Linked DNA regions of Homo sapiens: regions 1, 2, 4 and 5 are each linked to region 3. Evidence: promoter capture Hi-C in 16 types of primary human blood cells and fetal thymus (Javierre and others, 2016). All regions are on one chromosome and are shown on one strand. The core of a region is centred on a gene start or on the middle of the fragment in contact, and the rest is flanking DNA. Distances in the headings are between cores, read along the strand shown. Region 1 overlaps UNG (uracil DNA glycosylase). Region 2 has its middle 140 kb from the start of WSCD2. Region 3 holds the start of FICD (FIC domain protein adenylyltransferase). Region 4 holds the start of USP30 (ubiquitin specific peptidase 30). Region 5 has its middle 150 kb from the start of WSCD2.

Region 1 (4,641 bases), core at 1,335-3,834, 580 kb before region 3:
TCTCCTGCCTCAGCCTCCCAAAGTGCTGGGATTACAGGCGTGAGTCACCGCGCCCGGCCCAAAGCAGTGGTTCTTAACCAGGGGTGATTTTACGCCCCCAAGGGACTTTTGGCAATGTCTGCACATTTTTCATTATCACGAGCTGGGGGTTGCTCCTGGTTTCCAGTGGTAGAGGCCAGGGATGTGGCACAAGATCCTGCAATAGCACAGGACTCCTCTCCTCCTCCACAACAAAGAATGACTCAGCCCCAAATGTCAATGGTGCTGAGGCCGAGAAATCCTCCTCCAAGGCTAGTGAACAGTGCCCCAGATAGTCCCACTTGTAATAAGCTAAGTACACATCTGAAAGGAATCATGTCTGGACTGCAGTCACCTGTAAAGCAACTGTACCTGGGCGGAGGCGGAACAGGCCTTTGAACACTAAAGCAGAGCCCGTGAGCTTGATTAGGTCCATGATATGGATCCTGTCCCAGGATGACAACCTTCACCTGTGAACCACCAGGGGTCAGGAATTAAACAATACTGTAATGTAAGCAGCACAGACCCTGCCTCAAACAAACATAAACAAAACAAATAAAACACTTCTATGGCATAGATTGCTAATAGCAGAGTTGCTGGTCAAAGGCTAAGCGTATTTTAAACTTGTAAAGATATGTACCTAGCTGCTTTTTTAATTTTTTGAGACACGGTTTTGCTGTGTTGCTCAGGCTGATGTGCAGTGGTGCCATCACAGCTCATGGCAGCCTCGCCCTCCTGGGCTCAAGTGGTCCTCCCACCTGAGCCTCCAGAGTAGCTGGGCCCACAGGAGTGCACCACTATGCCCACCTAATTTTTTTTTTACTTTTTGTAGACACACGGCCTCCCTTATGTTGCTGAGGCTGGTCTCAAATTCCTGAGATCAAGGGATCCTCCCTCCTCGGCCTCCCAAAATGCTGGGATTACAGGCATGAGCCACTGTGCCTAGCCCCCAGTTACTTTTCGATGAATTAAAGCAATTTAGGGCCTGGCATGGTGGCTCACGCCTGTAATCCCAGCACTTTGGGAGGCCGAGGTAGGCAGATCACGAGGTCAAGATATCGAAACCATCTGGCCAACATGGTGAAACCCCATCTCTACTAAAAATACAAAAATTAGCTGGGTGTGGTGGCGCACACCTGTAGTCCCAGCTACTCGGGAGGCTGAGGCAGGAGAATCGCTTGAACCCAGGGGGTGGAGGTTGCAGTAAGCCGAGATTGCACCACTGCACTCCATCTCAAAAAAAAAAAAAAAAAAAAAAAAAAAAAGCAATTCAGATTTCCCACCAGCAGCATATGAGGGTGTCTGCTCCCCTATATCCTCTAACAGGTGGAGCCAGAAGAGAATGAGGTCAGATCAAAAGGGCCATGGGAGTAGGTGGCAAGAGACAATGAAATGAAATGAAGTTCCTGTCACGGGAGGTGTTGAAACATAGGCCGCCTCGTCCTTCCCATCCAGGGCCCACCCACCTAGTCTTCATTCTCAAGCTTCTGCCATTGCGTTCTTAGAATCTTCCTCCACAGCTGACATACTCTATCTTTCAGAATCCAGCTCCAGATGTTCCATGACCAGGAGGCTTTTGGGGACCTCTTGTCCCTCCCCTTGGTGTTCACACCATGCCAACATATTCTCTTGTGAAACAACTCTCCCAATGCTGGTCTGTCAAGAAGCCCTGCTGGCCCATCTGATCCTCATAGGTTTGAAACTGGTTTTTGAGCATTCCCTCAAAATATTCCTTTTAATATTCCCTGTTTATACTGATTACTGGTATTCAGAATAGGGCATTCAAACAAGAAGCAAATTAGTATTGATCTTAATAGGATTTAATTTAGCTTCAAAACCAAAGAGCTAGATTCTAAATTCTTACTCTAAAATTAAGCTTACGAGATTTTCTAAGTATTAGGTGTGGCTGCCTTATCAAGATGATTTATTCACCTATTTCACTTCTATGTCATTTCACAGATATTCATTAAATCACAAGATTCTTGCCCCAGTTTACAAAACGGGGGAGGAAAACGGGTAAGAAACCTAAAAGTCCAGTGTCAGCAGGTGCTAAATGCATCGTAGCAGCTCAGAGGAAAACTGGATCACAGAGGTGGCAGGCAACGGACTTCAATTCAAGGAGGTGCCACAGAGGCATCTACTTGATTTTTAAGAGACAGAAGTGGGGAGGGGTTTGCCACACTGTCCAACTCTGGAGTGGGAGAGTGGGAGGTGGAGGTAAGGCTGAGAGGTAGGACGTGGCCCTATTTAAAGAGGGTTGCTCTGCTTTCATAGTTCAACAGTGAGAAGCCACGGTTTTTTTTTTGTTTTGAGACAGGGTCTGGCTCTGTCGCCCACGCTGGAGTGAAGTGGTGTGATCTCAGCTCACTGCAACCTCCGCCTCCTGGGCTCATGCGATTCTCCCACCTCAGCCTCCCAAGTAGCTGGAATTACAGGCGTGCGCCACCATGCCCGGCTAATTTTTGTATTTTAGGAGAGACCAGGTTTCATTGGTCTTGAACTCCTGACCTCAAATGATCCTCCCACTTTGGCCTCCGAAAGTGCTGGGATTACAGGCATGAGCCACCGTGCCCAGCCCCACGAACTTCTGAACACAAGATGGATGAGAGCCGCCAACCAGCAACTGTTATATAAGACAAACTAAAGCAAAGGGATCTGATAACAGAACCACAAAACTGTTCAGGCCAGAAGTCAAGAGCTTGAAAGTGCTAACTATAAGGCAGTGTGGTCAGGTCAAGGTGGGGTTGACTATAACAAGCTGCAAAAGATTTAACTGCTTTGTGTGTCAGTTTGAACTTCACCACCACCATAACATCTGACACCGCGGGAGGTTAGTTTCAGGATTTAAAAAAAATACAAGAAATAAGAGCACAGGATGTACATAGTTTTCCTTTTTGCCACATAAATACCACGTGGTAAACATTAAAAAGAGTAAATACAGGCTGAAATACAGTCAGCCAAACCTCGGGATTTCAGTGTTTTATTTACTACTGAATGATGGACTGTGGCTTAACTCCAGTGTCCCTAATTTAAAAATACTATTTGACTCCTTCTCCCCAATAAAAATTATCAACAAGTTGTACTTACATCTTTTATGTCACACATCTGGGTCCAGGTGAAGACTTGGTGTGGGGGTGGATAAACAGTGTAATGCTTTCTTTCTTCTGCAACAAATCCCATTAGCTGATTTAAAGATAAACTAGACTTAAAATCAGATTCTCATTGGAAACCATAAGAATTCAATAAGAAAGCTTCTAGTGCAAGTTATTTGGAACATCATTAGTTCTTTGTCATGTTATGTCCAAATTCTTTTAAAAAACAACAAACAAAAACAGTGCCTGCCCCCCCACCTAAGTGGTTCAATCAGGTCAATTCCTTGCCTCTTTCTCTGGGCTGGGTCCTGACAGTGCCACTCCTCTCGGCTTTTTAAAGCTCAAGCCAGGTTTCATTCAGGATGGTTGGTGATTTTACTACGCCAGCCTTTCCTGGACAATAGACTATGTGACTTAAATGAATCCATGATATCATCTCGCGGGTCGTTAACAACTTTAACCAATATAAAGCTGCAGAGTGAAACATCATGGCTTTCTTTTACCCCCTTTGTGAGTAAAGGAGGTTGAAGGGGGTACAACCTAAGCCTACGGAAACATGAACTTGGCCGGCTACACTAACAAGACAAAAGGGCCGGCAGCCTCCACATTTACCCTTATGGAAGGTGCATTTCCATATTTACCTTGATAAAATACGGTTTCCCGAACTCCCCGCTGAGGTGCTTCTTCCAGCTCTCTCCAAAGCCCACGGGCACGTTGCGGGCCGCGAGTCTGAGCAGGGCCGCGGCCTTGTTCCTCTGGATCCGGTCCAACTGCTCGGCACTCAGCGGCGAGGAGGGCGGCGTCCCAGGCTCCTCCTGCCCAGCCGGGGCCTTCTTGGCTGGGATGGCCTGCAAGTGGTCCCCGCAGAGGCGGCTCAAGAGCTGCAGCGGCCCCTTCCCAGGCGTCCGCAGCTTCCGGCCCAACCCCCACGGCCCAAGGCAGAAGACGCCCATTTGTGGAACAGGTCCCAGCAAAAGCGGACAGTAAGAGCCCAGGGCTGGGCCCGGTCCGGGAATTGGGAATTAGGTTCTAAACTGGAGCGGGGAGACGGGCTGGGAGGCGCCCTATGGCTTCCCGAGGAGCGTCGCGGTGACTGGGAACCCTGCACAGAGGTGCCCCGCCCCCGCCAGACCCGCCCCACCGCGTCCCCACGTGGTCTTTTCGCGGCAAAAAACCTCCCTCTGGGTCCCGCCCCCTCTCCCCTCTGATTGGACAGCGCACCGAGCCAGGAGGGCCTGCGGCGCGCGGATTGGCGCCATGGGCCCCGAGACGCGTTCCCATTGGCTGGCCCTTTAGCATGGCGGCCCATGGGGGACAGCGGCGGCTATTTTGAACACGTGGAGGCTATTTGGAAAGCGGAGCCCGGGTTTACCGAGTCAGAGGCGCGATCCTGCACGCCCTCCGTCAGGCGGGGCCCACCGCCTTCCTCCCCCTTCACCCCCTAGCCCCGGCCCAAGCCGCGCCTCACCGCCGCATCTCCGCTTTCCTCAGGCACCCCAGCCACGCCGGTCCCCTGGACGGCCGGCTCGGG
Region 2 (5,328 bases), core at 1,285-3,784, 520 kb after region 3:
ATACAATAAAATACCTAGAAATAAATTTAATCAAGAATATTCACTGGGGAAGAAATAGTCTCTTCAATAAATGGTGTTGGGAAAACTGGATATCCATATGCAGAAAAATTAAACCAGACCCATATCTCCTACCATACAAAAAGTTTGCTCAAAATAGCTTAAACACCTAAATGTAAGACCTGAACCTATGAAACTACTGGAAGAAAACATAGGGGGAAATGCTTCGGGACATTGGTCTGGGAAAATATTTCATGAAGAATACTTCCAAAGCATAAAGCAACAAAAGCAAAAATAGACAAATGGGATTATATCAAACTAAAAGCTTCTGCACAGCAAAAGAAAGAATCAACAGGGTGAAGAGAAAAACTGCAGAATGGGAGAAAATATTAGCAAGTATACAACAAGGAATTAATATTTAGAATATATAAGAAACTCAAACAGCTCAACACCAAAAAAAGAAACAAATAATTCAATTTAGAAATGGGCAAATGATCTAAATAAACATCTCTCAAAGGAAGACATACAAATGGCCACCGAGTATATGAAAAAAAATGCCAACATCACTTTTCATCAAGGAAATGCAAATCAAAACCACAATGAGATATCATCTTACCCCAGTTAGAATAGCTATTATCAAAAAGACAAAAAATAATAAATGCTGGAGAGGATGCAGAGAAAGGGGAGCTCTTATACATTGTTCGTGGGAAAATAAATTAGTATAGCCATTATAGAAAACAAAAATATGGAGATTCCTCAAAAAACTAAAAGTAGAACTACCATATGATCCAGCAATCCCACTACTGGGTATATATCCAAAGTAAAGGAAATCGGTATGTCAAAGAAATGTCTGCACTCCCATGTTTACTGCTTCATTATTCACAATAGCCAAGGTATAGACTCAACTTAAGTGCCATTAATAGATGACTGGATAATGGAAATGTGATATATACACAATGGAATACTATTCAGACATAAAAAATAATGAAATTCTGTCATTCATAGTAACATGGATAAGCTTGGAGGACATTATGTTAAATGGAATAAACCAGTAACATAAATATAAATACTGCATGTTTTCACTCATACAGAAGCTAAAACAGTTGACTACAGAAAAGTAAAGAGTAGAATAGTGGTTACTGGTGGTGGGGAAGGGTGGAGGGGACCTGGGGAGGTAGCTAAAATTTGTGTAACAAATACAAAACTACAAGCTAGATAGGAGGAATAAGTTCCAATGTTCTATAGCATTGTAGAGTGACTATAATTAAAAGCAATTTATTGTATATTTTCAGATAGCTAGAAGAGCAGATTTCAAATGATCTCAACACAAAGAAATAATAAATGTTTGAGGTGATGAATATCTTAATTCTTTTGATTTGATCATTACTCATTGTATACATGTACTGAAATATCGCACTGTATCCCATAAATACATACAATTATTATGTGTTGATCAAAAATAATAATAAAAGAAAAAAGGCATAAGCTACTCTCTATAGAGGCAGAAAATAAAATGCAATTTTAAGTATTCCAAAGGAAAAAAAATAATAATTACAATAAGAAAGTCCTTCGATAAGAAGCAAACTTGATATATAAACAAGATGCTTAGAGCCATTATGAAGAGAGGATAAATTCTGCTCAGTAAATCTGAAAATATATTGCAAAAGAGAGGGCATTTGGTCTAAGTCTTGAAGGGTGCATAAAAGTTTTCCAGGTGCTAAATGGTGAAAAAGACGTTCCAGACAGAAACAGCAGTATTTTCTAAGGCACATTTTCCAAGTCACATTTGTAAAACTGCTTGGAATGTTTGCATAAGGGTGATGGCCCTGTGGAAGGAGAATATAGGATTCACACCAGCAAATCAACCAGCAAACAGGAACGAGCTCCCTCTAAGTGCCAGGCACCAGGCATACCAGTAGCAAATGTGCTGGACTTAGCTCATAACTTCATGGAGCCTCTACTGCTTGAGGAAGGAACTGCAGGAGATGATTCCCCATACCCTCCAATGGGGATGCTGCCATAACATCTTGCACTTCCTGGGGTAGCATGCATCACTTTCTATAGGATTGTCTGTTGACTGGTCATGCTCTCCAATTAGACTGTGAGTTCCTTAAGAGCCGAATGCTGTGCTGGTTACCTCTTTTATATCCCAGCTCAGTTCCAGGCACACAGTGACCACTCAACAGATTAGTGATTAAGGAAAGAAGGAATGAAAAGTTGATAGGACCAGTTTGTGACTGGCCTGCCTGCCTCCTCAGCCTCTTGAGGGAGAGCTATTACTGTTGCAATAAAATATAATATATTCACTGCAAACATGCAGGATTTTTTTAAAGCAGCAATAATTACATTACCACAACCCAGGATGGAATTAACCACAGCCTTTAACGTGAGTTATTAAAAATGTTTTACTTCTTCCACTGGCACTTAGAAGTCAGCTCTCCTACTGAGCCACTCTCTTCCTTCATTGACTTCTCTTTATCAGGGATGTCAAGATCATTGGCATTTAGAAAGCACATTATGTTAGCTTTTTTCTTTCCAAACACTGCAAAAGAAGTGATTTGACCTTTCATAAGGAAAATGGAACTCCTGAGCTTCCCCTACACAGCAGTCATGTCTGGGATTTCTTATCTCCACGTCAGAAGACCTTCTCACCAGCCTGGCAGGAGTCAGGCTGGAAGATAGATGGGAGTCTTTCTGATACTGTCCCCTTGAGAGAAAGTGCTGAAGGGGAAGGTTTATTAATAGTGGAGACCAGCCCTGCTGAAGGCAACTGTGAGGAGATGGGAGAGTGAGGGGGGAGGCAATGGCCTCTAGGGTCACAGTGAACTCCGCTGACATTTCATTTCTTTGACATCTGTGCTGAGAACCATAGGCTGTTGTCCTGGGGGTTGAAAAGGAGAGGATAGCTACAGTCAGAAAACTAAAATAGAAAAAGTTGACTGACCCAGCAGCCAAAAGGGACACTGAAAATTCCCTTATGGGAAAGAGCAGGTCTTAATAAGTCTCCTGTTTGGCTTAAAAGATAAGAAATAGGTCCATTGCCATCACCTACTCTTAGAGCTCTCTTTTGTGATTACTTTTGCATCTGGTAATAATTAGGAGCAGATGAGTCCTTGGAGTATATTGCCAAAATTACCCCAATTCTTCCTTTCCCTGTGCCCATGGCCCTTGCAATGAGACTCTGCTAGTGCTTCCATCAAGGAATGGAGCCTACTTCCTCACTGCCTGAATCTGGACTGGACCTTGTGACTAGCTTTGGCCAGTAGAACATGGCAGAAGTGATATTATGTCAGTTTCAAGCCTAGACCTCAAGAGACTGTGTATACTTTCATTCTCTCTGGGATACCTTCCCAGCTGCCACATGAAGAGCCTGGGCTAGTCTATGGGAGGATGAGACACGTGTGGACCAGAGTCCATTCAGAACAGTTATCCCAGCTGAGGCCCTCAAACGTGTGACAGCCTAGTCAGGATCAGTAAAGTGGCCTACCCAACATAGCTGAACATAGATGCAAGAATATGCCCAGCCAAGATAATAAGAACCACCTAGCTGAGCCCAGCTTAAATTGTCAATGGCAACATTTTAAGCAAATGAAATGGTTGTTATTTTAAGCCACTAGGTTTTGAGTACATTTTGTTATACAGTGATGCCTAACTGATAACACTCTTATTCTTGTTCAGGCACCCCTACAGGAAAGGAGGGTTTAGTACTTCATTTAGAAGATACCAGAACTCTATGTTAGAATGGAAGTTTCATGAGGGCAAGAGCCATGTTTACCTGGTTCAACCCATTGAGAGAAGCAAGTGATACAGAGCAGGGGATGAATACATCTTGTTGTATTGAGTGTCAAGATTGTGCAGAAAGTTGAGCATCTTCTGAATGTATACTCCAATAACTCATCTGCTCCTAATTGTTACCAGATATAAAAGTAATCACAAAAGGTAGCTCTAAGAGTAGGTAATGGCTGTGGACTTATTTCTTATCTTTCAAGAGTATACCTTCAGGGGAATTTGCCCAACTTACTTCTTCAGGTAATTATCACCCTGGTTCAAGCTTCTGTAAGAATTACTAGCAAGATCAATAGCACTTCTTAAATTTGACTTAAAGAGATGTGTGGCCTGGTGGAGAAGAGCCAGCTAATAGTTACGAACATTTCTGCCACACATACTCCACACCCTACAAAAATGCTCCATCCACTGTCTGCCTAGTTACCCAGGGTCATTCTTAGCAGCCATGCTGCTCCTCTCCCTCACTCAGTCCCCATGTCCTGTTGCTTATGCTCCTTAAATATATCTCAATCTATTCACTTCATGCCACTGCCCTACTTTAGAGTTGAATGACCAGTTCAGCTTCCTAAACTAGTCTCCTAGTTTAGGAGCCCCAGCAGCCAGTGTCATCTTTCCAAAGAACGAGTCTGTTCACTCCTCCCCTGCTAGCCTTCAATGGCTCCCCATTTGCCCTTGGGACCAGGCTCTTCGACAGGTTTTCTTGGTCTGTGTGTGCCCCCTGCTGGCTTTCCTACTTCACCTCTCCCTGTATGTTTTCACCAAAATACACCTGTTAGATCAGGTTTAGCCTAAAGCTGCCTCCTTACATATTTTAAGTTTGTCCTAAAGGTTGCCCTATACTTTGTGAACTATAACCTAAATGGAGTTGTAAACAGACTGTAGTCTACTCTTGTGTCAATCACCGAGTTTTTGGCCAATCAAAGGTGGCCAACTGTTCAAATCGTGTTCAAATAAGGCAGACGCCAAGCTCTAACCAATCTGGCTGTTCCTGTACCTCACTTCAATTTTCTTTACATCACTTTCCTTTTTCTGTCTGTAACTCTTCCACTACCTGGCTGCACTGGAGTCTCTCTGAGCCTCCTCTGGCTCAAGAGGCTGCCCCATTCACAAATCATCCTTTGCTCAATTATACTCTGTTAAATTTAATTCAGCTAAGGTTTTTCTTTTAACACATCTTTCCTGCAATACTGAACTATTTGCAGTTCCCAGGCTTGGGACATTCTTGAGCTGAGGCAGTCTCTCCACTCCCTATTCTACTGCTTGGCTATTTCTTTTCTTTTTACGTCTTCCCTTAGACGGCATAGTTTCCTTCCCTGATCTCAGCTTCCTGCCCATTTCCCTGATCTCAGAGGTGTCACTGTTTTTCTCTTCCTTCCCTCCACCACTAGACAATGAGCTCTGGGAGGCAGGGGCTATTTCTTGCATCTCTGTGTGTATTACAGGCTATGACTTAGGGTAAGTGGTTGAATGAATGAATGAATGAATGAGGCAAGCTAACCAAGAGACTTTGAGCAGCACCTCCTGATAATGAATCAGACTTGAGGG
Region 3 (4,796 bases), core at 1,339-3,838:
ATTTGGTGACGTCTGGAGACCTGGTTAGTTGTCATAACTGAGGAGGTGGAGGGAGTGCTACAGGCATCTCATGGGGAGAGGCCAGGGATGCCACCACCATCTAACAATGCACTTTCAGTCCCCACCACAGAGAACTGGTGGAGGTGGGGAGCCTGCTCTAGCCCTAGCCCTCCTGTCCTGGCCCCTCTTGGCCACCTGAGGATCAGCCCCACACATTCAACTTCCTTTAGTTCCTCGAATGCCCCCAGGCTCTCTTACGACAGTTATGTCAGTTATGACAACTAACCTCTGGTCTCTGCCTGGAGTCCTTTTCCTTGGATGCCCTTCACCCTGGATGACTCCTACTTAACAACTGGGTCCCAGCTCAGGTGTCACTTCCTCCAGGGAGCCTTCCTGGTATGCTCCTACAGCCCTTTATGCTTCCCCATCACCACACTTGTGACACTGTCTCAGTCACATCACCTTGTCTATACTAGGAGCTCAGGGCTGACTTGTTCACAATACCCCGATGCCCCACATACAGGACATGACACATTCTATGTCTGTCTATCCAGTTAACAAGCATTGAGGAAGACGGCCAGTCTGTCTTACCTGGAGAGGCCTTGGTCTTGGCCACCAGCAGCGTCGCGCCCCTGGAGGTGATGCTGAGCTCCGTGGACGGGCTGGTGCACTTGGTGGCGGCATGCTGCGCCCTGTCCGGTTTGCTCCTGAGCAGGTAGAGGCCTTTGAGCACAGCCAAGCACTGCTCCTCCACAGCCCCCAGCGGCAGCAGCAGGGCCAGCAGGGACCCCAGCACCATGCTCAGCAGCGTCACCCAGAGGAAGCGGCTCCAGACCGAGACCCATTTCGGTTCAGTCACCGCCATCACTGAAGCCATTGGTATGAGCATCATCTGGACTCAGGAGAGGGCCCTTTGCGCATGTCCACAGGCGGCTGAGAGAGAGCAGGATCTGCAAGGAGCCAAGAGTCGCAGGAGAAACAGACACGTTCAGGACATAGTGTGACTTCAGCTGGGAAGATGGGTTTGGAGACTTCTGCTCTTTTAGCTCACTAGAGAGATGGGGTGGGGGCAAGTCAAGGACTGGATCTCACTAGAGGAGGGGCCAGCCTAGAAGGACTGGTGCCACCTCCTGGGCAGTATGAATGTGAAAACACTGCTGTGGTCCAACAATTAATGAGCACTTGCCATAATCCAGGCCGTGTGCTAAGCACCAAATGCCTCACATGGGTCACCTCCTGCAATCTTCAACGACTTGAGCTGATGTTTTCACCCTTCTCCAGGTGAGGGAACTGAGGTTCAGAGAGGTGAAGTCCCTTGCCGAAAGTCTCGCCGGGAGCAAGTGACAGCCTTAGGACTTGAACTCAGGAACCCCACGGCTCTAAAGTGTCCCCCCTTCCCATATATCCCTGTGGCTTCTGACCACAAACACTGGATTTGTGGACATATGTCAAACATTTGGGACATAAATGACTGACAGACACCCAGGCAGATCAGCCACAGCAGTTCTGACGCCCAATCTTTGATAAGCACAATTGTTGGGTGGCCTCATTTATTGCCCTCACCCTGATATTCAGCCACAGCTCCCACAGTGCCCTTCCCCTCTCTGGCCTTCCATTTCTGGCCTGTCCAGAAGGGACCCCATCAAGAAGATGAGCAGTTCGAGCATCTCGAAAGGAACTCAGGCTGTGGGCCACAGTGCTTGGCCTCAGTGACAACATGGCTTGTATGTGCTTGGGGCTGGCAGTGGGAGTGGAGGTGGGGCCAGGCATGCAAACACTATGCTAACAATAAGCACTTATTAAGCAACTATGGTGTCCTAGGTGCTGAGCAGTGTACTGGCCACGCATTGCCTCGTTTCACCCTCATGCCACCCTATGAAGGAAGAGCTACCGCTAGCTCCATTTTACAGACAAGGGAAACCAAGACACAGAGAGCATAAGTTAAATTCCAGAAGGCCCACAGGAGGTAAACAGAGGCATCCGGAAGGAAACCCCAGGGCCTCTGAACCCGGTCCCCAGGTCTCGATTTCTACCTTATTACTAAGCAGGGCCTGTGCACCTGCTCTGGGCTGGTCCTGACCCGGGAATGACTGATGGATCACGGGGTTCTGAGTCTCATGGGGATCCTGGCCCATTGCCACAGAACATGTGAAATGGCTTGGGGTGCGCTTTAATAGGGGTGCGCCTGGAGTGCTGCGCGGGTCCAGGGGTCTGGGCGGGCTTCCCGAGGGGACAGGCTCCTGGGCGGGGCGGTACAGGAAAGGGGGCAGTTCGCCGGTGCCAGGGGTGTGTGCAGGGAAGGAGTGCGTTCTGGGAGGCGCGAATCTCTCCCCCACACTTCCCTAGAAAGGGAGAACTGAGGCCCGGAGAGGGGAGGGGACCGGTCTGAGTCCCCTCCAAGACTGCAGAGCCTCCCTTCCCGAACCCCGCCCAGGGCTCGCGGCCCCGTCGCACCCTTCCCGGCTTCATCCTCTCGAGCCCCTAGGGCTTTTCCCCTTCTCACCGCGCGCAGCTGTCAGAACCCCAACCGCCTTCCCCGCGCTCCCAGCTCCGGGCCGCCGGCTCCCGGGTCCTCCTTCTCCGCCGGCCTCTGGCCCCGCCCCCGGCGACTTGCCATTGAACCGCCCGCAGCCCTCGTCGCGGCGGATTGGCTTTCCCCACTTGTCCTTCCCTCGCATTTCCGGGTTCCCGCGTCCGCGTCGGCTTCCCCGGGAAAGACGCGCCGTGGGCCACTCCCATTGGTTGTTGCTTGCGTTTGTCTCGTTCACGTAGCAGCCAATAAGCAGCGGGAGGGGCGGGGCCTAGGCCACAGGCAGGAGGAGCAGGTGCTGGAAACCCGATGGGCGTGCGGATTTGGGGCACACTAGGTGGCGGGCCCGGAAACTGGAAGTTCCACGGCGGTCTTTTCCTCGGGTCTCTTCGTCCCGGAGCCGCTGTCGTGTGCCTCATTTTTCCCGGTTGTGAAATGAAGATGCTGATGCTTTTCACCCCTTCACCCGGTTAGCCTGCTTGACTGCGCAGCCCCTGTTCTTAGCCTCCACCCCATGCTGCTGAGTTTGCCGCCTTCTTCTTCTTTACTCTTTTCCTCTCTGTGTCTTTTCCTCCCTGACTTAAACAACTTTTTTTTTTCTTATAAAATACAGGGTCTCGTTGTGTCGCCCAGGCTGGAGTGCGGTGGAGCAATTGCAGCTCACTGCAGCCTCCACCTCCTGGGCTCAAGCAATCCTCCCATCTCAGCCTCCCGAGTAGCTGGGACTACAGGTGCATGCCACCATGCCCGGCGAATTTTCTTTTCTTTTCTTTTCTTTCTTTCTTTCTTTTTTTTTCTCTCTCTCTGTCTTGCTTTCTTTCTTTTTTTTTGAGACGGAATCGCACTCTGTTGCCCAGGCTGGAGGGAAGTGGCACGATCTTGGCCCACTGCAACCTCCGCCTCCCAGGTTGAAGCGATTCTCCTGCCTCAGCCTCCCGAGTAGCTGGGATTACAGGCGCGCATCACCACGCCCGCCTAATTTGTGTATTTTTAGTAGAGATGGGGTTTCACCACGTTGGCCAGGCTGGTCTCGAACTCCTGACCTCAGAAGATTCGCCTGCCTCGGCCTCCCAAAGTGCTGGGATTACAGGCGTGAGCCATCGCGCCCGACCTATTTCTGATTTTTTATTTTCTTTAGAGACCGGGTCTCACTATGTCGCCCGGGCTGGTCTCGAACTCTTGACCTTAAGCTCTCCCTCCATCTCGGCTTCCCAAAGCGCTAAGATTACAGGCGCAAGCCACCCCCTCGGTTCTCCCTGACTTTTTAATTTGTATCCTCTCCAGAAGGACCTGGCTAGTTCTTTTGGCTTCCCAGAGAGAAATTTTTTCCTTGAAGCAGAGAATGGAAACCTCCATCTTAATCCACAAATACTGAAATTAAACATCTAGGGAGGTGCCCCAGAAACGCTAAGCATTTAGAAGTTAGCAGTTCAGATTCTGGGGAGTCAAAGAGACCTGAGCTCAAATTCAGACTTTGCCATTTACTCTCCGTGTCACCTTGGGCACGTTACTCCTAGCCTCACTTTCCCCACTTGTAAAATGGGGACAAACAGCCTACCTTGCTTTTGGCATCCAGTTCAGGATTTGCAGAAGGCTTGATGCTTCAAGATCTGACCTCCTCTGTGACGTGTATTGCTCTTGGAGGCAGGGCTAGGTGGTGGTTGTGGGGTGTCACTGTTGGGAGTCACACAGACCTGGGTTCAAATCCCAGTTCTGCCCCTTGCAAACTGAATCACATTCAGCAAGTGACTTGATCTTGTTGATCATCTGTCTAGGCTTTTCTGTAAACTGTGCACAGTGTGATGATATTACCACTTCACAAGGTTTTATGTGAGGGTGAAATGAGATTCTATACATCTGGCACAGAGCAAACTATCTATCTATCTATCTATCTATCTATCTATCTATCTATCTATCACCTATCTATCTTTTTTGAAATAGGATCTCACTCTGTTGCCCAGGCTGGAGTGCAGTGGCATGATCTTGGCTCACTGCAACCTCCATGTCCTGGGTTTAAGTGATCCTCCCATCTCAGCTTCCCTAGTAGCTGGGACTACAGGCACACACAGGCTAATTGTTTTTTTGTTTGTTTGTTTGTTTTTGAGACAGAGTCTTGCTCTGTCACCCAGGCTGGAGTGCAGTGGTGTGATCTTGGCTCACTGCAATCTCTACCTTCTGGGTTCAAGCGATTCTCCTGCGTCAGCCTCCTGAGTAGCTGGGATTACAGGCATGTGCCACTGCACCCGGCTAATTTTTTTGTATTTTT
Region 4 (5,350 bases), core at 83-2,582, 540 kb before region 3:
GTCTGTGCTTAAAACCACGAAGTTCAAGATGGAAACTGAAGGGAAGAGTGTCAAGGGGATGGGAGAGAGGACTTGTCCATGACTTTGGCAGCATAAGGAAAAAATACCCAGGGACAAGTGGCGACTTTGGAAACTCCATTCCTCTGCAAAATGACATCACGAGGAGAGTGGTGGGGCCTGCGGATGAAAAGATCTGGCTTCTCCTCCCAACTCTGCTATGAGGTCAGCTATGGGGCCACACTTCCTATCTACGGAATGGGGGCACTGGACAGGATAAGTATCGAGGACTTTCAGCCCTGGGATAATAAGCTCTTTAAACCTGCTCCAGTTCCAGAGGAAGCCGACCTGAGCAACAGGTCTCAGTCATTTGGGGTCAGCAGTGGGGGAGGGGGTACTCAGTTCTGAAGCCTGGAGCCCTTGGGAGGGTGAATAAGAGGGAAATGGGGGCCCTGACAGGATTGGGGACCCAGGCAATCGAGGAGTCCTAACAAGAACGGAGGGCTTTAACAGGACCAAGCAACCTTAACAGGTTAAAGGGGCCCTGACCAATTTAGAGACCCTTGCAAAACAAGGGCCTTTACTCACACTAACAACATCAGGGACCCAGACAGAAGTGGCGATCCATATTAGACTAGAGGGCGGGCTAACAGGAATAGGGGGCGGTACTAACAAAACGCGGGGCTCGCAGGCCCGGGGCACTTATAGGACTAGAAGAACCGTGCCAAGGTTGGGGAACCCTGGCAGTCCAGAAACTGATATGATTGGGGGACCCAGAAGGACTGGGGGTATACTAGAAGGATTGAGGGGTCTTGGCAGGCCTAGGAGGCACTGAAAGGACTGAGGGCACTGACAGAATTAGGGGCCTTGACAAGACTGGAGTGCCCCGGGTGTCCTGGGAACAATGACAGGAGGGGGAGGGACTGACAGACCTGGGGAGTGCAGACAGAATTGGTGTTGCCGAAGGACTGGAGCCCGTCAGTCCTCCCACCTACGGGCCCAGGCCTCCAACCCTAAAGGACGCAGAACCTTCCAGAATGCCCGCGCGGGCCCTGGAGACCCCAACTAGGGCATGAAAAAGCCGTCACGGGCCCAAGCTGGGGACCCTGGTCCCGGCCTCTTCGGCAGCCCCGCCCCCCAAAATCTCACCTGACGGCCGCCCCGGTCCGCAGGAAGCGCTGGATGGCCCTGTCGGCCGCGGTCATCGCCGCCTCGGCCCGGGAGCTCAGCATTGCAGCCGCACCGGAGGCCTGAAACCGTCTCCTCCGCTACCGCCGCCGCCGCCGCCGGACCGAGGGATACGACGGTTCCCGAGACAGCGGAACCTGCGGCCGCAGTCCCAGCACCTCGGGGGAACGTAGACCGCAGGACAGCTCCCAGGGGGACCGGAAGTAGCTGCCCCCGGAGAGCAATAGCTGACGGACCACGTCCTTTCTTTCTTTTCCCTTAGCAACAGGCCCCGGCGTCGGTTGCTACGCTGGGCTCAGTTGCCTGGGGCTGCTTGGTTTTCAGATTTGCTTAGGCTCCATTCATAAATACAGATGGCACACTTCTAGGATGGACCCTGGGTCATGATTTGAATTTTTCGATGTGGGGAAGGGAGGCCAACAGCCGAAAGTCGGGTCAGGCCTCTGCTATAATTAGTTATTATTGTGGCCAGAGTGGAAATAGGTCGCAGAGGAAGGAACTTTAATGAGCATGAGGCCCATCTCTGACGATATCAGTAGAGAAATCAACGTCTTTAATAGCCAACAAACTTATTGTTTACTTGGGTGCCAGGTATAGAGCTAAGTATGTTACATTCATTATTTACATTTAATATTCACACCAACTCTAACATTACCCACATTTTACATCCCAGGGAACCCAGGAAATTTGAAGAAATAGTAAGTTTTTTGACGCAGCTTGTAAGTGGTGAAACAGAGATTGGCAGTTCGGTCTGTCTGTCTCCAGAATGGCACTCTCCAACAGAAATATACAGGAGCCACATAGGTAATTTTACATTTTCCAGTAGCCACATTAAAGTGAAAAGCAGGAGGTAGGCCAGACGCCGTGGCTCACGCCTGTAATCCCAGCACTTTGGGAGAACGAGGCTGGTGGATCACCTGAGGTCAAGAGTTCGAGACCAGCTTGGCCAACATGGTGAAACCCCATCTCTACTAAAAATACAAAAATTAGCCGGGCGTGGTGGCAGGCTCCTGTAATTCCAGCTACTCAGGAGGCTGAGGCAGGAGAATTGCTTGAACCGTGGTGGTGGAGGTTGCACTGAGCCAAGATCATGCCACTGCATTCCAGCCTGGGTGACAGAACCAGACTCCATCTCAAAAAAAAAAAAAAAGAGGTCAGGTGCGATGGCTCATACTTGTAATCCCAGCACTTTGGGAGGCCGGGGGGTGGGGGTGGGGGGCACGGATTGCTTGAGGTCAGGAGTTCGAGACCAGCATGGCCAATATGGTGAAACCCCGTCTCTACTAAAAAATACAAAAATCAGCCAGGTGTGGTGGCGCGTGCCTGTAATCCCAGCTACTCGGGAGGCTGAGGCGGGAGAATCGCTAGAACCTGGGAGGCGGAGGCTGCAGTGAGCTGAGATCACACCACTGCACTCCAGCCTGGGCAACAGAGAGAGATTCAGCATCAAAAAAAAAAAAAAAAAAAAAAAAAGCAAGAGGTAAAATTAATTTTAACCATATTTTTTCCTTGACCCAATATGTTCAAAATATTGGGGCAGGTGCAGTGGCTTATGCCTATAATCCCAGCACTTTGGGAGGCCAGGTGAGAGGATGGCTTCAGGCCCAGAGTCCAAGGCCACCTGGGCAACATAGCAAGAACCCATGGCTACCGAAAAACAAAGAAAAGAAAAACAAAATATGTCATTTCTATGTGAAAATTATTGATGAGATAATTTACATTCTTTTTTTTTTGAGATGGAGTCTTGCTCTGCCGCCCAGGCTGCAGTGCAATGGCACGATCTCGCCTCTCAGGTTCAAGCGATTATCCTGCCTCAGCCTCCTGAGTAGCTGGGATTACAGGTGCACACCACCACGCCCGGCTAATTTTTTTGTATTTTTAGTAGAGACGGGGTTTCACCATGTTGGTCAGGCTGCTTGAACTCCTGACCTCGTGATCCATCCGCCTCGGGCTCCCAAAGTGTTGGGATTACAGGTGTGAGCCACCGCGCCCGGCCCATTATTTTTTTGTTTTTTGGTACTAAGTACCTCTCAGTTTGGAGTACCCACTTTTCATGTGCTCAATAGCCCCAAGTGGCCAGCAGCTACCGTATTGGACAGCACAGTTTATAAAGCATTAGAGCCAGCAAGATTTTTCCCTCCCTTTCAATCGCTTTCTCCGACTCCAGACTGAGTAATTGCATTCATGCTGGGGGTGGTGTCGCATACCTGTAGCCCCAACTACAGAAACAAAACAAAAGAAATCAATGCATTAGATCAGTAGTTCTCAAAGTTTTTGTTCTCCGGATCTCTTTGTACGCTTAAAAAGGATTGAGGGATTTTGTTTATATCTAACTGTACTCTGTTAGAAATTAAAATTGAGAATTTTTGTTTCCTTAAAATTGAGGTATATAGGTATATCTTGTTTTTTTGTTGTTGTTGTTTGTTTTTGAGATGGAGGCTCGCTCTGTGGCCCAGGCTGGAGTGCAGTGGCGTGATCTCAGCTCACTGCAAGCTCCGCCTCCCGGGTTCAAGTGATTCTCCTGTCTCAGCCTCCCGAGTAGCTGGGACTACAGGCTCCCGCCACCACGCCCAGTTAATTTTTGTATTTTTAGTAGAGACAGGGTTTCACCATATTGGCCAGGCTGCTCTTGAACTCCTGACCTTGTGATCCACCCACCTTGGCCTCCCAAAGTTCTGGGATTACAGGTGTGAGCCACCGTGCCCCGCCCGGCATATCTTGTTTTATTGCACTTCACTTTATTGTGCTTCGAAGATACTGCATTTTTACAAGTTCAAGGTTTGTGGCTACCTGACTACAGCAAGTCTATTGGCACCATTTTCAACAGCATGTGCTCACTTCGTGTCTCTGTACCACATCCTGGTAATTCTTGTAATATTTCAAACTTTTTTTTTTCTTTTCTTTTTTGCAATAATGCCTCACTCTGTCATGCAGGCTGGAGTGCAGTGGCGCAATCTTGGCTCACTGCAACCTCCACCTCCTGGGGTTCAAGCGATTTTCGTGCCTCAGCCACCCAAATAGCTGGAATTACAGGCACGCGCCACCATGCCTGGCTAATTTTAGCGTTTTTAGTAGAGATGGGGTTCCACTGTGTTGGCCAGGCTGGTTTCGAACTCCTGACCTCAGGAGATATGCTTGCCCTGGCCTCCCAAAGTGCTGGGATTACAGGCGTGAGCCACCGTGCCTGGTCCCAAAGTTTTTCATTATTATTACACCTATTAAGGTGATCTGTGATCAGTGATCCTTAATGTTACTATTGTAATTGTTTTGGGGTGCCACAAACAGCATTCAGGTAAACCAGCCAACTTAATCGGTATTGTGTATGTTCCAAGTGCTCCACTGACTGGCTGTTCCCCCCTCTCTCTCACTCTTCTCAGGTCTCCCTAGCCTGTAAGACACAACAATATTGAATTTCAGTCCACGCCTCTAAATGTTCGAGGGATAGGAAGAGTCGCACATCTCTCACTTTAAATCAAAAGCTAGAAATGATTAAGCTCAGTGAGGAAGGTGTGTCAAAAGTCAGGATAGGCTGAAAGCAAGACTTCTTGCACCAAACATTTAGTCAAGTTGTGAATTCAAAGGAAAATTTCCTGAAGGAAATTAAAAGTGCTACTCCAGTGAGCAGAATGTAAACTAAAAATCCTAAGCCCCGCCAACTGACTGAATGGGCCCCCTCTTGGCCAAGGGGACCTTCAAGAAACCTTAAACACTGAGTTCCCAGCCATAATGAGATGAGAGGTCAGACATGCCTCCTTATACCCTCTTCCTTAGAAGTTTAGACACAACAGCTGACCAGCCTTAATGTTGAAACAGTGATCATAAGACAGACAGAATGGACTGTTTGTGGCAATAAGATACCAAATTATAAACAGGATCTAAGGTCATGCCAAGCAAGGATTGCGTTACACACCCCTGCACTTAAAGAATAAACTGTTTTACATCCGGTTTTTCTTTTTCTTTCTTTTTTTGTTTTTTTTTTTTTTGAGACAGAGTCTCACTCTGTTGCCCAGGCTGGAGTGCAGTAGGGCGATCTTGGCTCACTACAACCTCCACCTCCCAGGTTCAAGCCATTCTCCTGCCTTAGCCTCCTGAGTAGCTGGGACTTCAGGTGCGTGCCACCACGCCTGGCTAATTTTTGTATTTTTAGTAGAGATGGGGTTTCGCC
Region 5 (5,022 bases), core at 807-3,306, 540 kb after region 3:
CACAAGAGAATTTCCACAGGGGCTCCATGGAACATGCTTCAATTTGCAGGTGTGGTGATTGAAGCTCTCAATTAGTTTGGAATCCTTTCCACCAATTTCCTGTGGGTGTTTAGCCACCTTTCTGTGGGAAGCCACATAACATGGCAGTTAAATATTAACATCCCCAGATTAAAAAGAGATATGGATTTAAATCCCAGCTCTGCCACTTACTAGCTGTGCGACCTTAGGCAATTTGCTGTGCCTCTCTGAGCCTCAGCCTCCTTTATTATAAAATAGGGATAATAATTATCCCTACTTCATAAGGTAGTTGTGATCATGCAATGAGTTAATTAATATCATAAGGTGCTTAGAACAATGCCTGATGTGTGATAAGCCCCATGTAAGTACTTACTTTCTTATTCTTCTTCGTATGAATTGAGAATGAATGTAAAGCACTTGGCACATAGTAAGTATTCAATCCATGGCAAACATCATTATTATTACTACTATTACCTACTTTTTTTAAGTTATCAGTGAAGAAGGAAAAATAAATAAAGTATCTTTTAATATGTAGTGAAGCAGTTTATATATATTATCTTATTTAATTCTGATTATTATTAAATAGTAACTCTATCATTATTCTCACTTTATATTTGATAAAATGGATCCAGGGAAGTACAGTGGTGTGTCCATGTTCAGTGCTGGTGGCAGAGGCAAGAGTTGAACCCCGTTTGATCTGATGCCCAAATTTGTCCTCATTCCAGCTAGATGGTCATTACCAGAAGGACAAGGCCTTGCCTGTTTCTAATGTGTCTTTAATAACCAGAAAAAAGCCAGGACCATAGGAGATGCCCACGTGTAAGTCTTAATCAGCTCTCACAACATACCAGGCACTCTTAAGCATGTCCTACATATATCTTCATTTGACTTATGTACCATATAAGCTGGGTACTAGTACTATCCCAATCTTAAAGATGAGGAGATGGATGGATGGATGAAGGAATAAAATGATGGATGGGTGGGTGGGTTCCATTACTCATGTCTTCTGGATTAGATGGATCATAAACTACTTGAAGTTCTTATTAAAATTCAAAATCCTAGGCTCCTTTTAACTCCTGCTCACCCCAGGGATTCTGTTTCAGTAATTCTGGTGGGCTCCATCCTGGAACATACATATAGTCCAATCCTCCCATGAGGTCTGATGAGTTTTATGAGTCGAACAAGTTTCTGGTTCTTGAACAAAAATTTTGGTCCAAGAATGGAAATCAGAAGCAGCTGCTAAGAATACAACCAGCTTCTGTTTTGGTAATTTGAAGAGGAGACTCTAGCAAGTCAGGGCCAAGTTATATGCCCTGTACTCTGTAACTATTATGTCTTCGGTACAACTGAAAGGGAATGGAAAGACAGTTCATTGGCAAAATTTGACACCCACCTGGGAGATGGCATACTGGGGTGGCCTGGAAGTGGCCAGAGTTGGATGTCAAGATACCTGGTTCAACTACATGCTCTGCTCCTTTTTTAGATGTGTGCTTCCCTGAAGCTCAATTTTTCCATCTGCAAAACAGAGGTAATCATTCCTACCTCACTGGGATGTTTTGAAGATAAAATGAGATCATGGATTAAAAAAACAAAAACAAACACTTAGCATAGTACTCATCTAATCATCATCATCATCAGTAGTGATGGATAAGAAATATAGCACACTCAGCAGAAGGTCCAGCTCATCCTCCTACCTGCCAAGAGTCACACTGAGAGCCATCTTAGTTGCTGTCAAGTAAAGGGTGGCTAAAGAAAATATTGTACAGCAAGTAATAGAATTAGCCTCATGAATGTGCCTAAATCCCTGAACCAGAGATGATCAAAGCAGGTAGCCTCTACCCCAGGATGCAAAAGACAGTCCATTAACTGTAAGATATTGTTGAAAGAAACTAAAGAGAACCTAAATAAATGGAAAGATCTCATGTTGATTTATGATTTTTAAGAAGGCAATAATCCTCAAATTGATTTACAGATTAAATGCAATACCTATCAAAATATCAACTGGCTTTTTTTCCTTGCAGAAATTGGCAGGCTGATACTAAGTTTCATATGGAAATGCAAGGAGATTAGAATAGGGAGAATGATCTTAAAAAAGAACAATATTGGAGGACTCACAAGTTCCAATTAAAACTTACTACAAAGCTACAGAGACCAAGACAGGGTAGTAGTAAAATATAGGCATATAGATCAATGGAATAAAATTGAGAATCCAGAAATAAACCTTATATTTTGGCCAAGTGATTGTTTACTGATTGATTAATTGATTGGAATAAGTTCAAGAGATTTATTGTACATAATTGAGGTAGGAGGCGGGACTCAACTGACTCTGGAGGTGGAGCTTGGACTCTGGACCATATTGAAGACTAGCTGAAACAGGGAAGAAGTGAAAGTATCTCTCCAGGTGGGGCACAGTGGCTCACATCTGTAATCCCAGCACTTTGGGAGGGCAAGGCAGGCGGATTACTTGAGCCCAGGAGTTTGAGACCAGCCAGGGAAACATAGCGAAAACCCATCTCTAGAAAAAAATACAAAAATTAGCCAGGTGTGGTGGTGCACACCTGTAGTCCTAGCTACTCAGGAGGCTGAGATGGGAGGATTGCTTGAGCCTGGGAAGTGGAGGCTCAAGTGAGCCGAGTTCGCACCATTACACTCCAGCCTGGACAACATAGTGAGACCCTGTCTCAAAAAAAAAAAAAAAGCACCTCTCCATAAGACATGCCCACCAGTGCCATGTCAGTTTACCATTGCCAGGGCAGCACCTGGAAGTTATCACCCCTGTCCATGGCAACAACCCAGCAATCAGGAAGATACCACTCATTTTCTAGAAATTTCTGCATAATCCACCCCTTAATTTGCATATAATTAAAATGGGTGTAAATGTGACTGCAGACCTGCCTCTGAGCTGCTGCTCTGGGCACACTGCCTATGGGGTAACCCTGCTCCACAAGGAGCAGTCCCTCCGCTGCTGCTGTGCACTGCTGCTTTAATAAAAGTTGCCATCCAACACCACCAGCTCACCCTTGAATTCTTGCCTGGGCAAAGCCAAAAACCTTCCTGGGCTAAGCCCCAGTTTTGGGGCTCACTTGTCCTGCATCATAATGGTGACTATAGTTAATGTACTGTGTACTTGAAAATGGCTGATTGATTTTTGACATGAGTGCCAAGGTCATTCAATGAAAAAACAATAATATTTTCTACAAATAGTGCTGAGACAAATGGATATTCACATGCAAAAGAATGAAATTGATCCCCTACAGTATACTAAACACAAAAGCTAACTCAAAATGTTTTACAGATCTAGACATAAGGGCTAAAACTATACAATTATTAGAAGAAAACAATCTTCACAACCTCAGATTTGATGTCTTAAATTCAATACCAAAAGCAGAAGTTATAAAAAATGTAAATTAATTGGACTTTATCAAAATTAAGATATTTTTGCTTTAAAGAATGCCGTCAAGAAACTGAAAAGACAAACCACAGAATAGGAGAAAAATATTTGCAAATCTTGTATCTGTTAAGGGACTTACTTCCAAAATATGTAAAGAACTCTTAGAATTCAATAATGAAAAGGTAAATAAGCCAATTAAAAACGGGCAAAGGATCTGAATAGACATTTCTCCAAAGAAGATATGAAATAAGCACATGAAATTATGCTCAACATTGTTAGTCATCAGGGAAATGCAAATTAAAACCATACTAGGACAAAATTTACACACACAAGAGTGGCTTTAATTTAAAAGGCAGGTAATAATAAGTGTTGGGGAGGACATGGATATATTAAAACCCTTATACATTGTTGGTAGAAATGTAAAATGGGACAGCTAGTCCAGAAGGTACTTTGCTTCCAAAGGTTAAATGTACAGTGACTGTATCACTTAACAACTACACTTATAGTTATTTTACCAAGTGAAATAAAAACATATGTCCACATAAAAACCTGTGCACAAATAATCATAACAGCACCATTCATAATATCAAAAAGTGGGAATAATCCAAATACTTATTAACTGATTAACAAATAAATAAAATGTGGTATGTCCATGCAATGGAATATTATTCAGCCATCAAAAGGAATGAAGAACTGATACATGCTACAACATGGATGAACCTTGAAAATATTATGCTAATTGAAAGAAAGCAGACAAAAGACTGCATATTATAAGATTCCATTTATACAAAATATTCAGAATGGGCAAATCTATAGAGACAGAAAGTAGATTAGTGGTTGTCAGGGGATGGAGGAAGTTGGGGAGTGACTGTTAACAGCATGGGGTTTCTTTATGGGGTGATAAGAATGTTCTAAAATTGATTCTTGTAATGGTAGCACAACTGTGTAAATATACTAAAAATAATTGAAATGTACACTTTAAATAGGTGAATTGTATAGTATGGGAATGGTGTCTCAATAAAGCTAACTTTTTAATTCACCAGGAAAAAATACTAGAATCTTTATATCTTATCATTTTAAAATTTTATATATATACATATATATAATTTTATATATAAAATATCTGTGTTATGGGTTGAATTATGCCTTCCCCAAAATTTATATGTTGAAGTCCTTACTCCCAGTACCTCAGAATATGATCTTATTTAGAAATAGGGTCATTGCAGATATAATTAGTTAAGATGAGGTTATACTGGTGTAGAGTGGGCCCCATATCCAGTATGACTAGTGTCTTTATAAAAAAAAAGAAAACTTGAAGGCAAACAGGCATACAGAGAAGACAGTGGGACAAGACATGGAGAGAAGACGGCTATCTGCAAGCCAAGGAAAAGGTCTTGGAGCAGACCCTTCCCTCACAGACCTTGGAAGAAACTAGCCCTGCTAACACCTTGATTTTGGATTTCTAACCTCCAGAATTGTGAGACAATAAATTTCTGGTTTTGTTTTGTTAATTTAGTAGTAGACAAAGTCTCCCTATGTTGCCCAGGCTGGTCTCGAACTCCTGAGCTCACACAGTCCTCCTGCCTCAACCTCCCAAAGTGTTGGTATTACAG

What was found. Contacts are between HindIII fragments. The CHiCAGO score rates a contact against its expected background, and 5 or more counts as called.
Region 1: a contact is called between a fragment that was not itself captured here and the fragment with the promoter of FICD in region 3, in 10 of 17 cell types (neutrophils, fetal thymus, monocytes and 7 more). The highest score is 15.0, in neutrophils.
Region 2: a fragment that was not itself captured here is called in contact with the fragment with the promoter of FICD in region 3 in 8 of 17 cell types (M2 macrophages, M1 macrophages, endothelial precursors and 5 more); the score reaches 16.3 in M2 macrophages.
Region 4: the fragment with the promoter of USP30 here is called in contact with the fragment with the promoter of FICD in region 3 in 14 of 17 cell types (neutrophils, M2 macrophages, monocytes and 11 more); the score reaches 12.9 in neutrophils.
Region 5: a fragment that was not itself captured here is called in contact with the fragment with the promoter of FICD in region 3 in 1 of 17 cell types (M2 macrophages); the score reaches 5.9 in M2 macrophages.

What each region holds. Positions count from the first base shown.
Region 1 is chr12:109,097,749-109,102,389 of GRCh38, reverse strand. UNG (uracil DNA glycosylase) reads right to left here. Exons shown (of 7, transcript NM_080911.3): 1 at 4,579-4,641; 2 at 3,752-3,958; 3 at 3,106-3,201; 4 at 391-488. Among named protein-coding and RNA genes, the nearest start is that of UNG, 2.5 kb to the right of the region's middle. RefSeq lists a silencer at 4,225-4,614. The HindIII fragment of the contact is 1,375 bases long and covers 1,897-3,271 here.
Region 2 is chr12:107,989,676-107,995,003 of GRCh38, reverse strand. No RefSeq gene overlaps it. Among named protein-coding and RNA genes, the nearest start is that of WSCD2, 140 kb to the left of the region's middle. The HindIII fragment of the contact is 3,033 bases long and covers 1,018-4,050 here.
Region 3 is chr12:108,513,069-108,517,864 of GRCh38, reverse strand. FICD (FIC domain protein adenylyltransferase) reads right to left here and starts at 2,588. Exons shown (of 3, transcript NM_007076.3): 1 at 2,504-2,588; 2 at 592-950. The coding sequence starts at 892. RefSeq lists enhancers at 153-653, 866-965, 654-1,154, 3,057-3,116 and a silencer at 4,613-4,796. The HindIII fragment of the contact is 9,938 bases long and covers 1-4,796 here.
Region 4 is chr12:109,048,558-109,053,907 of GRCh38, reverse strand. USP30 (ubiquitin specific peptidase 30) reads right to left here and starts at 1,332. Exons shown (of 13, transcript NM_032663.5): 1 at 1,147-1,332. The coding sequence starts at 1,229. It overlaps USP30-AS1 (USP30 antisense RNA 1), which reads left to right. Exons shown (of 2, transcript NR_038996.1): 1 at 1-222; 2 at 1,170-1,867. RefSeq lists enhancers at 1-305, 639-1,138. The HindIII fragment of the contact is 28,323 bases long and covers 1-5,350 here.
Region 5 is chr12:107,973,195-107,978,216 of GRCh38, reverse strand. No RefSeq gene overlaps it. Among named protein-coding and RNA genes, the nearest start is that of WSCD2, 150 kb to the left of the region's middle. The HindIII fragment of the contact is 6,913 bases long and covers 1-5,022 here.